Regions from separate parts of the Homo sapiens genome. Here region 1 is linked to region 2. The links are contacts of gene promoters, found by promoter capture Hi-C in blood cells and fetal thymus (Javierre and others, 2016). All regions are on one chromosome and are shown on one strand. Each heading gives the region's core, a stretch centred on a gene start or on the middle of the fragment in contact. The rest is flanking DNA. Distances are from core to core; before and after follow the strand shown. Region 1 overlaps PCBP1-AS1 (PCBP1 antisense RNA 1). Region 2 holds the start of ASPRV1 (aspartic peptidase retroviral like 1).

Region 1 (6,719 bases), core at 17-2,516, 36 kb after region 2:
TCAAGGAGTGTGGAAAATTCTGTGACCTGTAAAGAAAGAAAATGACCCAAAGTTATTATTCATCTTCAGATGAGGGGACAGTTTATTTTCCAACAGTCCTCAGCAGGGGTTATTGCATGAGAAACAAGCTCTTCTCTATTTCTAGGTAAGGCAGAATAAGAAGTGGACACACAAGGAGGCTGGGTGTGGGGCTCACGCCTATAGTTCCAACACTTTGAGAAGTTAAGGCAGGAGGATGGCTTAAGCCCAGAAGTTGAAAGCTACAGTGAGCTATGATCGCACCACTGCACTCTAGCCTGGGTGACAGAGCAAGACCCAGTCTATTAAAAAAAAAAAAAAAAAATGGACGCAGGCCTTTGCAGAGGAGGATGCTTGTGAACTTGGCCCTCCTCTGCCCTCTACATTTTACTCAATGACCAAGCCCATGGCTTTATCCATCTCCTCCGCACCAACATCTCCCAGAACCATAGTACCGACCTAGGCCTAGAGATCTAAATACTGACTTATCCTCACCAGGAGCCCAGAAGGAATTGTCACAATCTCTGTGCCCTGCCCCCACCACTTCTCTTCCTGTAGTCCCTACCCTGGCTCATCCTCCACCACACTTGTCCAAGTCAGCACCTGTGAGTCACCCCGGGCTTCTCCTCCTTCCTCCCTCCCCTGTGCAAAGTCACCATGTCTTGGCCACCTCTCCTGTCTGCCTCAAGTCAGCTCTGCTCTCCTCCTCGCCAGCCCTGCCCCAGCTGCGTCCTCCTCCTGCCACACCTGCTCTCTGGCAGGGGCCGCCTGCTGGCTTCCCTGCTTCCAGTCATGGCCACCTCCAGCCCGATGGCACTGAACCACAGATGAGCAACAGAATGACCTGGGGAGGCATTTAAAATCTAGATCCTGACTCAGTTGATCTGGCCGGGTCAAGCATGTGTATTTTTGCAAAAGTGCCCCAGGTGATTCTGACACATACTCCTAGTTAAGAACCACGGTTACGGCCGCCTCTTCCTCATCGTTATTAATAACAAGAGAAACAACAATTGACATTTTTTGTGCACTTACGTGCACTGCCTCATGTAATCTTCATGACAATGCTATGAGACAGGAGCTGTATTCTACTCCCATTTTACAGTTGTTGAAACTGAGGCATAGAAAGTCTCAGGGCTAGTGAGGGGCAGGACCAGCTCATGACCAGCCTGACTTCTAACCGCTGTGCTCTCCATACCCCTTTATAAAGCCGAAATTCATATGTGGCTCCCCTCCTCACACCATTTCCTGATAGTTCTAGAAAAAAAAAAAAAGCAGTGTGGGGACACATTTATGATTTCCCTCTCCACCCAACCTCCCACCAATAGCTTCTTAACGCTAAAAGAAGTCTCTTGATCAGGGTAGTGGGGACATAGTGAATACCTATGTAAAAATTCACTGAGATGTATGCTTAGGATTTGTGACTTTATGTTTGTCATTCCCCAATAAGAAAAGATCCTTTAAAAAGTCACTTAAAAAAAAAAAGAACCTAGCAAATCTGAAACAGAGAAAAATATGCATCTGCTAAAGAAACTGGGGAAAGGCCATAAAAATGCCAGCAACTGTGAAGAATTCTTTCTGGTGCCGGGCGCAGTGGCTCACGCCTGTAATCCCAGCACTTTGGGAGGCTGAGGCGGGTGGATCACGAGGTCAGATCGAGACCACGGTGAAACCCCGTCTCTACTAAAAATACAAAAAAAAATTAGCCGGGCACGGTGGTGGGCGCCTGTAGTCCCAGCTACTCAGGAGGCTGAGGCAGGAGAATGGCGTGAACCCGGGAGGCGGATCTTGCAGTGAGCAGAGATCACGCCACTGCACTCCAGCCTGGGTGACAGAGCAAGACTCCGTCTCAAAAAAAAAAAAAAAAGATTTCTTTCTGGCAATAACACAGGTAAGAACAGGCTAGGAAAAGATCCCCAGAGCTAACCCGCAGGAAATGCTCGAAAGAAACCAGGCTGGGAGAGGGCACTGGCTAGAGGCAGGGCTCCGGGCATGACTGACAGGAAACCCCAACACAGTGGGCTTGATGGCAGTCAGCAGTCGGGCACAGGCCAAGAGCCATAGCAGTAACAGCAGCAGCGACACAGGGACTCTGAGGGCCCACAGGACTGTCTCTGGGCCAGGGACTGGGGGCTGCCCCAGGTGGAGGTCAATGACAGTGAGTTAACTCCTTAACTTTCACAATTCACAAAAATACTACAGATTCCATCTAGATTAATATTTATTTTATTTTTTGGAAACAGGGTTTCACTACGTAGCCCAGGCTGGAGTGCAGTGGCTAGTCACAGGTGCAATCGCAACGCACTACAGCCTTCAGCTCCTAGGCCTGAGCATTCCTCCTGCCTCCGCCTCCCAGGTAGCTGGGACTCCAGGTGCACACCACTGTGCCCAGCTAGATTAAGATTCAAATTAAAAAAAAAAACTCACTAAAATATTGAGATAATTTGTGTGAATATATTAATATAAATTCTGCAGCGGAAGTATTCCTGAAACTGATATAAAGACAGAAACAATGCCTATAATCCCAGTATTTTGGGAGGCCAAGGAGGGCAGATCACTTGAGCTCAGGAGTTCAACACAAGACTGGCCAACATGGTGAAACCTAGTCTCTACTACAAAAATACAAAAACTAGCCGGTGTGGTGGGGGCATGCCTGTAATCCTGGCTACTCGGCAGGCTAAGGCAGGATAATCACTTGAACACAGGAGGCAGAGGTTTCAGTGAGCTGAAATCGTGCCACTGCACTCCAGCCTGAGTGACAGAGCAAGACTCTGTCTCAAAAAAAAAAAAAAAAAAAAAAAGACAGAAACCAGCCCAGTCCTAGTGATCCAAATACCAGTGACTTATCTGGCCAGGAGCCTCCACACAACAATCCCAAAGGGAATTGTCACGATCTCTGCACCCCACCCCCACCACTCCCCTTCCTACAGTCCCAATCCTGGCTCATCCTCTACCTGCTCACACCCTGCCCTCCTCCGGGTCAGCACCTGTGAGTCACCCCGGGCTCCTCCTCCTTCCTCCCTCTCCCACCCAAGGTCACCACATCTTGGTCCCCTCTCTCATCTGCCTTGAGTTGGCCCCGCTCGCCTCCTCTCTAGCCCTGCCCCACCTTCGGCCTCATCCTGCCACATCTGCACTCTGGCAGGAGCCGCCTCCCTGCTGGCCTCCCTGCTTCGAGTCATGGCCACCTCTAGCCTCATGGTTTGGAAAGCCTATACAGACTACCTTGATTACATGGATATTTTAGATTCATGAATGCTTTAAAAATGAACAAGACTAAATGACAAGTGATAATCTAGGATAAAATATTTGTAATATATGAGAATTGGGCAAGGTGGCTCACACCTGTAATCCCAGCTACTGGGCAGGCTAAGGCAGGAGTATTACTTGAGGCCAGATGTTTGAGGCCAGCCTCGGCAACATAGTGAAACCCTCATCTCCAAAAAAAAAAAAAAAAACCACACACACACACACACACACACGTAATATATGACAGACAAGGAGTTAATAGCCTGAATACATCTTTAAAATAAATAAGAAAAAAATAATATACCACACTAAATAATAATAATAAACTACACAAATGAAGTGGGAAAAATGGAGAAATATATCAATAGAAAACAGAAAACTGACTGGGCTCGGTGGCTCACGCCTGTAATCCCAACACTTTGGGAGGCCGAGGTGGGCGGATTGCTTGGGCTCAGGAACTTGAGACCAGCCTGGCCAACACGGCAAAACCCTGTCTCTACTTAAAATACAAAAACTAGCTGGCTATGGTGGCATGCGCCTATAGTCCCAGTTACTTGGGAAGCTGAGGTGGGGGATCACCTGAGCCCAGGAGGTTGAGGCTGCAGTGAGCTGTGATCACGCCACTGCACTCCAGCCTGGGCAACAGAGCAAGACCCTGCCTCAAAAAAAAAAAAAAAAAAAAAAAAAAAAAGAAAGAAAAAGAAAAGAAAACTAGATAAAGCACATAAGCAGATAATTCATCAGAAAGAATTACCAACGGCTGGCCTGTAAAAGAGTCCAAGTAATAAAAAGAGAAAAGGAAAAGGAAAGCAAACTAAAGCAACAATGATATACTATTTGTTTTTGCTTATCAAATTTGCAAAATTTTCAAAAATGCTAATCCCCAGTGTTGGGAAGGACATAGTGAAGGAGGCACTCTCATAGGATTGGTGACAAGAGCCTAAGTTGATACATCCTTCCTGGAAGGCAATTTGACAATATGTACCAAATCCTTGAAAGTGTGCATACTCCTTGATCTACTCTATTTAACTTTTTAAATTAAAAAAAAAAAATTAAAGTATTGAGATAGTTTGTTTGAATATATTAATATAAACTCTGTAGCAGAAGTCTTTCTGAAACTGACATAAAGACAGAAACCATGCCTATAATCCCAGCACTTTGGGAGGCCGAGGAGGATGAATTACTTGAACTCAGGAGTTCAAGACAAGCCTGGCCAACATGGTGAAACCCTGTCTCTACTAAAAAATACAAAAGTTAGCCAATGTGGTGGTGCATGCCTGTAATCTCAGCTACTTGGGAGGCTAAAGCAGTAGATCCCCTTCTACTTAAGGGGATCAAAATAAGGATGTGGCTGGGGTTGGTGGTTCACACCTATAATCCCAGCACTTTGTGAGGCCGAGGCAGGTGGGTCATCTGAGGTCAGGAGTTCAAGACCAGCCTGACCAACATGGTGACACCCTGTCTCTATTAAAAATACAAAAACATTAGCCAGGCATGGTGGCACATACCTGTAACTCTGGCTACTCAGGAGGCTGAGGCAGGAGAATCGCTTAAGCCCAGGAGATGGAGGTTGCAGTGAGCCAAGATCTCCCCATTGCACCCCAGCCTGAGCAGCAAGAGCGAAACTCCATCTCATAAAAAGAATAATGATAATAATAATAAGGATGTGCACAGAGTCAGAATTATATATAATGGACACAATTGTTAATAACCTAAAGTGGCAATAAGAAGGGATTCGTTAAATCATGGTAAATTCATAGTGAAATATAAGCGATCAATAAAAATTTCATTGACAAGAAAAAATGTTCACAATGTATTGCTAAGTATAAAAAGCGAGTCATAGAACAGACGTACAGTATGAACCCATTTATGTAATAAAATATATATGCACAGAAAAAATATCTTAAAGGATATAACCAAAACCATAGCAATGTGTATCTCTGACAAATATTAGCATGATTTTTAATTTTCTTTTTCTGTTTCCTACTTCTCTTGTAAGAAACATGGCAGTGTGCACTGGCAGAGACCCCGCAGGTAATGCAGACCCCACCATACCCCCACCTTTCCATCTACCTGGTGGGGTTCCCTGTCCAGAGCTACCCTGTGGCTCTGAGCATTGATACCCTTTGTATGAGACATAAATGCTATTTCTTGTGCTGCTGTTTTAACTTTTCAAGCTTAATCTTGCCTCCTCAATTTGCTGTGGTAAGACTGGGTAAGGTTTGTGTCTCACATTTCTTGTGTGTTCTTCACACTGCCTACTACATAGCAAGTTCACAGCAAACAGCCTAAGAAAGAATGTGTCACTTCTGTGCCCAAGATCTCGTGGGCTGGCTGGCCCCACAGGTGTGGCATCTGAAAGAGCTCAGTTCTAGGCCAGCTTGAGGCTGCATGTTGTGGGCTACCTGTCAATCTAGTTCTATGAAGATGCCTATTGTCCTGCTAATTACTGTAGAGTGATGGGGCTGCTTGTTTAAAGCATAGGTTATTGCCCTCACATCCAGAGGCAAAGCCAATCCTGTGGCATCCTGTAATTAATGAGCCCATAGCATTTCTTCCTGCCTCTAGTGCAAAGTTGGCTTTGATCCAAGGGAGCACTTCCCCTCCATCTACAACTTCACATCTTTGCTGTTGGAGGCCTCTTCTGAGAAAGTACCTCCTTTCTTAAACTGGGGGGCTGATCAGAATAGCCCTATGTCCCTGGTGTTTAAAGTCAGCTTCACCAGCTCCCCCTCGTCCTTCTGAGTGATAGAGTATGCTCTTAAGTCCAAGCAAATCTACTATCCAACCAGCTCAGTTTATAGGCCCAGAGGCCAAAAGAACCCTAGAGACCACTGCAGGGGTGACAGACGGTTTGTTCATTCAAATTCAAAAAGTAAATGTTTATAGTTGTCGATAATCTCTGCAATCAGCACTCACTTCAGTTAAATCCTCTGTAGAAAAATGAGTTAAATCCTCTGGAGAGGGAGTCAGAATCAGGAAGAGGCCAGACAACTGCCTCTTTTTCTCCTTGTGTATGTGTGAATGTGTCTGGTGCTCACAAGGTTCTTGAAGGAGTGGACGGAGGAGAGAAGTCCTGAAGTCTTTGCCATGAGCACATGTGAGAGGCTTTATGGAGGCCAAGCCCAGACTTCCATCATGGGGACCTTGGCCAAGGTACTTCACAGCTCTGTGCCTCAGCTTCCTCATCTGTAAAATGGGATGATCATAGAGGACCTGCCTCACAGAGTGGTTGTTAATGGATGTTAAGCACGTAGAACACTGCCCAGCCCAAGGTGAACAGGACACAAGTGTTTGCCACTGTTAACAAAAGCAGAGGGAGCCTTTTGAAAATGTCATCTTTTGAGTCCCCTGAGCACTCTCTTGCTCTCTCTGTGAAGAAAGATTCCACACAGCCTGGCATGAGAGCAAGGTCCCTTCCCAGGTGCTTTAGAAGCCAAAGAAGTGGCTGTAGC
Region 2 (6,435 bases), core at 3,646-6,145:
TGGAGTAAAAACCTGGCAAACAGCATTTTGACCAAGTGATGAAACAAGTCGGCAACATATGCCTCCTGATACGATGTACTGAGGATGCACCATCACTTCTGGGTATTCCTGCCCGAAACCCACAGCCCGAATCTCACCACAACTGAACATCAGATTCAGCCAAACTGAGGAACATTCTACAGAATAACTGGCCAGGCGTCCTCAAAACTATCAGGGTCATGAAAACAAAGACAGAGGAATTACTCAGATTAAAGGAGATGAAAGAGACACGGCAACTAAATGCAATATGTAGCTGAATTCAGTCCTGGACTAGAAAATAATCTGGGGGCCAACAATGTTCTTGTTGGGATAATTGGAACCATTGGAGTAAGATCTGAAGATCAGATGATAGTGGTATTACATCAGTGAACTTCCTGATTTTGATAACTGCATCATGGTTATATAAGAGAATGCCCTTGTTGTTGTTGTTGTTTTCCCCTAGGAAATATACACTGAAGTATTTAGAGATAAAAGTGCATCATATTTGCGATTTTCAAAGGTTCCTATATATATAGATAGGAGAAAAGGAATGAGAATGAGAGAGATGATGAAGTTAATTGGAAAAATGCTAATATTTGGGGAAACTGGGTGAAACGTGGAAATTCTTTGTACTGCTCTTGCAACTTTCCTGTTAGTCTCAAATTAAGACTTAAAGATTTTCTGGATAAAAGCATAAAGAATTATCTAGTATGGTCTGGGGAACTGGCATGCATTCAGTTTGTGGTGGTCATTATTAGAGAAGAAGGCAGCTTGTAGGGCCCCCTTAACTAGAGGTATTAGAATGTTCTAGGCCAGGGCTTTTCAAACTCTTATGTCCCCTAGAATCACTTGGGGATCTTGCTCACTGCAGATTCTGGCGCTGGTCTGGGTGGGGATGGAGAGTCTGTATTCCCAACAGGCTCGCAGGTGATGCTGATGCCGCCTTCCTGCTGGTTCATGGATCACCCTTTGGGCAGTACAGGGGTAGATGCCACTGGAATTTAGACCATGGGTTCCCAAGCCTGCTGCACTTTGGGACCACTGGAGGAACTGATGTTCATGGGTCTTCTCTGGTGATTATCATGTGCTCCAAAGGCTAAACCTTCACACTGATCCTGCATCCTCCTTTCCATCATTGCAAAAGCAGACCTTAGGTATAAGGACTGCCATGGTGTCCCAGCAGAGCCTTTGCTGCTGCTTTACTCCATCCTATACCCAGAAGGCAGATGAATCTTCCTGCTCTCCCATGGTTCAAACGCCCACTGTGGGAGGCAGGTGTGAACTCCTCACCCAGACAGCAAGCCCTCTGTGGTGTGGCCACAACCCACTTTTTCTGGCTTCTCTCCCGGGCTTCTCTGTTGTTTGATACCTGACTTCCCAGAGAGCAGCTGCTCATAGTCCTGCAGCTGGGTTCCACGTTGACGCATCTGCAGCTGTGATCACTCTCACCCGCATGCAGCAGCGGTCTCAGCCTCACTCGGGTCTCCCAGTAAGAAGCACCACATGGTCCCTTCCTCCATGGGGGCCATGCTTCAGATGTCACAGACCCCACCCCTCACTGTGCCCTCTCGGGGGGCCCACATTTCTCTAGGAGAGAAAACTGGCTGAGAGCTGGAGACCTGGGGGCTCAGACAGGCTCTCCTCACTCAGAGCAGGGGAAGAAGGTGTCTGCTGCTGGGACACAGCATCCCATTTGCAATCACCCAGGACAGGGCTCCACTCCGTGTGGTGTGTGGGAAAGGGCAGGGAGGCTGGGGTATTGCTCTGGAATTCTGGCCTGGCCACCAATTCCTTAGTCCCCTCCCCAGCTCCCCACCCACCCACTTACAGACTCTTTACCCTCCCTCCTTCTACCCAGCACGTGGCTGGGATCCAAAGGACCTGGAGGAAAATAAGTCACAGGGAGGTGCCACCTGGATTGTTCCCTCGGGAGAGGGCTCGGCCCATGAGAGAGCAGCATGCGTTAGGCCACAGAGAGTGGGGCTGAAAATCAAATTTGAGAAGGGGGATGCAGGATCTGGGAGTCATCCGGAGACCACCCTTTCTCCAGTTCCCCCATCGCCTTCTCCAGTTCTCTCACCCCCTTCTCCAGTTCTCCCACCCACTTCTCTAGGCATCACTTTTCTGGAAATAGATTTCCTCCTGATCCCACACCTGTCCTTCCTCCAGGTGCCCTGGGGCTGATGGAGCTAATTTCAGTTAAGATGCTTGGCTGCCCAGGGAAGGGGCCTCGGTAAACCCCGAGGATTAGGGGCTGAGCCATGCCTCAGTTCCCAGGAGAATCACAGCTGGAATCGGAGGGAAGAAGGGGCCAGGGACGGGCAGCTGATCCTGGCTCAGATCAGCTTCAAAAAGTCCAGGGGCTTCACTCCTGCCTTCTGTCTCTCCCTCAGGAGCTGTCCAGGTGGGAACTTCAAGAGGCTCATTCCACCCTGGAGGATGGAAAATGGTCCTTCATGCCTCCATCAAGAGGTCTGGGATCCCTGCACGTTCGAGTCTCTGACCTTGCGCCAATCTTCCTGGGCCCAAAGTTTGGAGGGTGCAGGCCACCCTCCCCTGAGAACAGGCTCGCCCGATGTGCTTGGTGGGGAGGCCTGAGATTTGGAACAAACTGGCTCTTCTGTGGAGACTTTTGTCCACTCAGCTCCTCCCTTTGAGTTTCAGATTCCCAGCCCTGCTGCACTCCAGAAAAAGAAACAGAAATTTGGAAGCAAATACGAGATGGACCCCTAAAAGAGATGCACACCCCATTCCCAGATCTGGGAATGTCCTCCCCTCCATCAGGTCATCTAGTTTCAGGCTCTGTTCCAAGTCCCTCCAAGAAGAAGCTGACCTCCCACCGCCGGGACCCTGCCTTGCCACAGCCTCCCCCGTCCTCCAGCATGCCCTTGGGCTGCCCCACACAGGTCAACACTTGTCTCCTGGCCCTGCTTTCTGCCTCCAAGTTCTCGCTCCTGGACAGCTGTAAGAACCTATTTGCCCAGCAGACACTTTCCTGTTTGTTTATCATAACCATAATTTCCCAATCCCCAATCAAGACATCTCACATAAAACTTTAGGGTCACTTTTGGGTATAGAGGCAATTTGTATGCTAAAATACTACAGATTGAAATAAGTAGAGGAATTATGACGATTCAAAATAATGAGAGCAATTCTGGAGGGAATAAGTCAAAATATTTTATGCTGAGACTGTCTTAGAAAATCCAAGACCTGTCATCCCTGTGTATATGTTCTTATACCTCCAGCTAGGCACTCAGTAGACATGTGAATCTCCCTTGTCTTTGATGCTGACTCCCTCTCACATTCCTCTCATCCTCAATCAACACATTACATGGTTTTTCCATGAATCAATCTTTATTGGTGTTTGCAGCAATTGAATTATTGGCATAAGGCACAATGGGCTTCAAAGCAAATGACAGAAAGAAAATACGATTGTACAGGTGGAAAGGCTCTTCAGGGAGGTGTCCCAGAGCAACTGTGACCCTCACAAAGACCCTGCAGCTAGGACCCAGCCCAACTAAGACAGGCTTTGAGGACCTGAGAGTGACCAAGCCATACCTCAGGGAATCTGAAGGGGTCCCACAGTTCTTTCAAAGACAAGCATTTCTAGCTTCCTTGGGAGCTCTTCCAGCCTTTGAGTCTTTGTCATCAACAGCAGCTTGATGACCATGGGGACCCTGTCCCTCTAAGCCAGCCTGCTCTCCCTCACCTGTGCCTGTTCAGTGGAAGCCTCCCCTACCAGGGGCAGATTAAGGCCCCTGCAGAGGGAGGCAAAGGGGAGAGAAGAGCAAGAGTTGATAAGCAGACTGGCCAAGCCCAGTGACCCCCATGAGGATATGCAACCCCCCCCACAGCGGTGGGTCTTCCCACCAATATTTAGGAGGTTAAAGAAAAGGTGGCTTCTCAGTGGGATAGCTCCTGCCGCCCTTCTTCTGAGGAGGGGTCCTCCTCTATGAGCTCCAGGTCAAACTCATCTTCCAGGGACCCTCCCACAGGCAGAAGGCGAAACTTCTTCCCTTTCAGGGTGCATGTGCGGTGCTCAAAGTCCAGGATAGCATTGTGGTCCTGGAGCACATCAGTGCCAATGATGGCTTCCTCGGCACTCGCATTGGCCACTAGGAACTGTGCCTTCAGCTTCAGCTTGCCTAGGGACACCGCTGTATCCCAGACACCCAGGATCTTCATTTCAGCACCATTGGCCACCTTTACCACATTCTCAAAGGGCTGCAGGGTGTCCAGATCGCCATCAGTGACCTCCTCCCACAAGTTTGGGTGGACCACAGAGACCTGGGCCCCAGAGTCCACCAGGAACCTCACGGGCACTTTGCCAATCTTCCCCTTGAGATAGTAGCCCTTACCCATGCTGTTGGCAAAGACGATCTCTTTGGGCAGGTGGCTGGGGGCAGCCCCAGGGACCCCAAAGGCCTTCAGGAGGGCCTCTTTCACAGTCCCATAGTCTCCCTGGTCCTGGGGACTGAGCCTATTGTAGACACCCAGGGCCTCTCCTCTGAGGGACTCTTTCAGGAACCTTAGCTTGGTGATATGGTCCCAATGGTTGAGGTCATTGATGACTTCAAAGCTGTGCAGCCAGAGGTTTGGGACGACATTGGCCCCATCAAAAGGTTCCGGGACGAAGGCATGCTGCCGGCGGCCTTCCTCACTCCTGGCTCCGCTCCCGGCCATCCTGCTGCTCTCCTCTGGAACCTCAGCAGCAACCCACGCCAAGAAGAGAAACCCACAGAGCAGTGTCGGCGCAATCACGCTGGAAAACGGGGCCTCTCGAAGCAGAGTGGGGATGACTTGCCCGGCCTTGGGCAAGCAGGAGGGAGCAGGCGCGGTCGGCTGGCTGACTGCTGGGGCAGAGGCAGGCAGTGCTGTGGCCTGTTCACTCTGCAGAGCCTTTTTGATGCCTAGGCTGGCCCCTGGGCTCCCCATTCTCCTTTGTTCTGGAAGCTCCGCCCCTCCTCACCCCGCCCTCCTGCCAGCATCCGGCCGGACTAGCAGGATGGGTGCCTCACCCTCTGCATCCATCCTTGGACCAACACCAGCCAGCCCACATCCCAAGAAAGGCCAGCCTCTGTTGAAGGGGGACTACCCTGTACCCTCCCTGGCCTGTGTTCCAGAATAACAGATGAGGACACGGAGGATGTGATGACATTCAGGTATTTGTCATCAGCCAGTGAAGGAAGGGGAGGCAGGGACCAGACGCCCATCAGCTCAGAGACCGGGGAAGCCGCCATTGGCCTCCCCAACAAGTGACTACTTTGAGTGGTCAAAGGAAAACAGTTTACATGTACTGAGCTCCTACCACATGCCAGGCACTGGGAAGTGTCTCACACACATTCTAAAGCAGGTATGGGATCCTATGGGATTTCCTGGAGAGGGAGGCAGAGGAGGGTTCCAGCATAAAGAATGCACAGAAATGGTCTTTTTTAAGTGAGTGAGGACACACACACACACACACACACACACACACACGTGCACAATCATCTTACATGGACTCAACTGCTGCAGTAATTTTCCTTCATTGATCACCCCTGATTCAGAGGCAGAGGGGTGGCCAAGCAACTCTGGGTAGGCCCCATACTGCACTCCATGAGCATTGTCTCCACCCTATCCACCCCTCTCCATTTCCAGGAACTGTTCCAGGGCCCCTTCCCCAGGCACTGCAGCACTTCCTCTCCCACTCCCCAAGCTGGTCATTTGTGGAAAGATCACGGGAAATTTCACTCCCTTTTCATTCTGAGAGGGAAAATGTCCACTATGTTGGTGATGCCAGTGGTGAGGACCTGGAGGGCTCTGGCTCTGTGCCCCTCGCTGCAGGGGTAAAGGGTAGCACGGGAGGACATCCAGTCGTCTACAGAGGACATCTGTGAGTCCAAGGGCTGGAGGCCTGACTTGGGGCTGTGCAGGGGCTGTTGAAGGGATCCACTTTTATGTCCCCATTCAAAGGTCACTCCATGGAGCCTTCTGCCTGTCCCTAGAAAGGGCACCCACTCCTCGTTGAGCGTGTTTTACGGTGTGATCTGGTGGTTTGTTCACAAGTCTGCCTCTTGCTATGAACCAGAGTCTGGGGCTCACAAACCTGGCATTTGTGATTGTCTCCAGCCCCCAGAACAACTTCCTCTGGGACCCAGGGGCTCTTTGCTGGGCTCCAGGCCTAGCTGTGTGCTGTCACCAAACAGGAGTGATTAAGGATGGGAGAGGAGGAAGACTCGATGGCACACCTGTGGCTCTGGGGCTGTTTTTCCTGGCCAAGAGCCTGTCCCTCTTCAGCTCCCTATGCCATGCATCACCCAGTGCCTGGCGGAATCCCAGCAGTACCCTGCCTTTGGACAGTCCTGCCTCTGGATGGCCCAGGTCCCCAACCACAATGCAAGACTGTGCTGTCCCCAGCCCCTTCCACCTGATTCAGTG

Evidence for each region. Contacts are between HindIII fragments. The CHiCAGO score rates a contact against its expected background, and 5 or more counts as called.
Region 1: a contact is called between a fragment that was not itself captured here and the fragment with the promoter of ASPRV1 in region 2, in 1 of 17 cell types (neutrophils). The highest score is 5.3, in neutrophils.

What each region holds. Positions count from the first base shown.
Region 1 is chr2:69,996,863-70,003,581 of GRCh38, forward strand. PCBP1-AS1 (PCBP1 antisense RNA 1) reads right to left here. Exons shown (of 11, transcript NR_033872.1): 8 at 1-26. It also overlaps a transcript of ASPRV1 not described here. Among named protein-coding and RNA genes, the nearest start is that of ASPRV1, 39 kb to the left of the region's middle. RefSeq lists a silencer at 586-840. The HindIII fragment of the contact is 8,346 bases long and covers 1-5,439 here.
Region 2 is chr2:69,956,736-69,963,170 of GRCh38, forward strand. It overlaps ASPRV1 (aspartic peptidase retroviral like 1), which reads right to left and starts at 4,896. Exons shown (of 1, transcript NM_152792.4): 1 at 3,354-4,896. The coding sequence starts at 4,701. The coding sequence ends at 3,922. PCBP1-AS1 (PCBP1 antisense RNA 1) reads right to left here. Exons shown (of 11, transcript NR_033872.1): 11 at 5,528-6,435. RefSeq lists a silencer at 4,782-5,076. The HindIII fragment of the contact is 12,271 bases long and covers 1-6,435 here.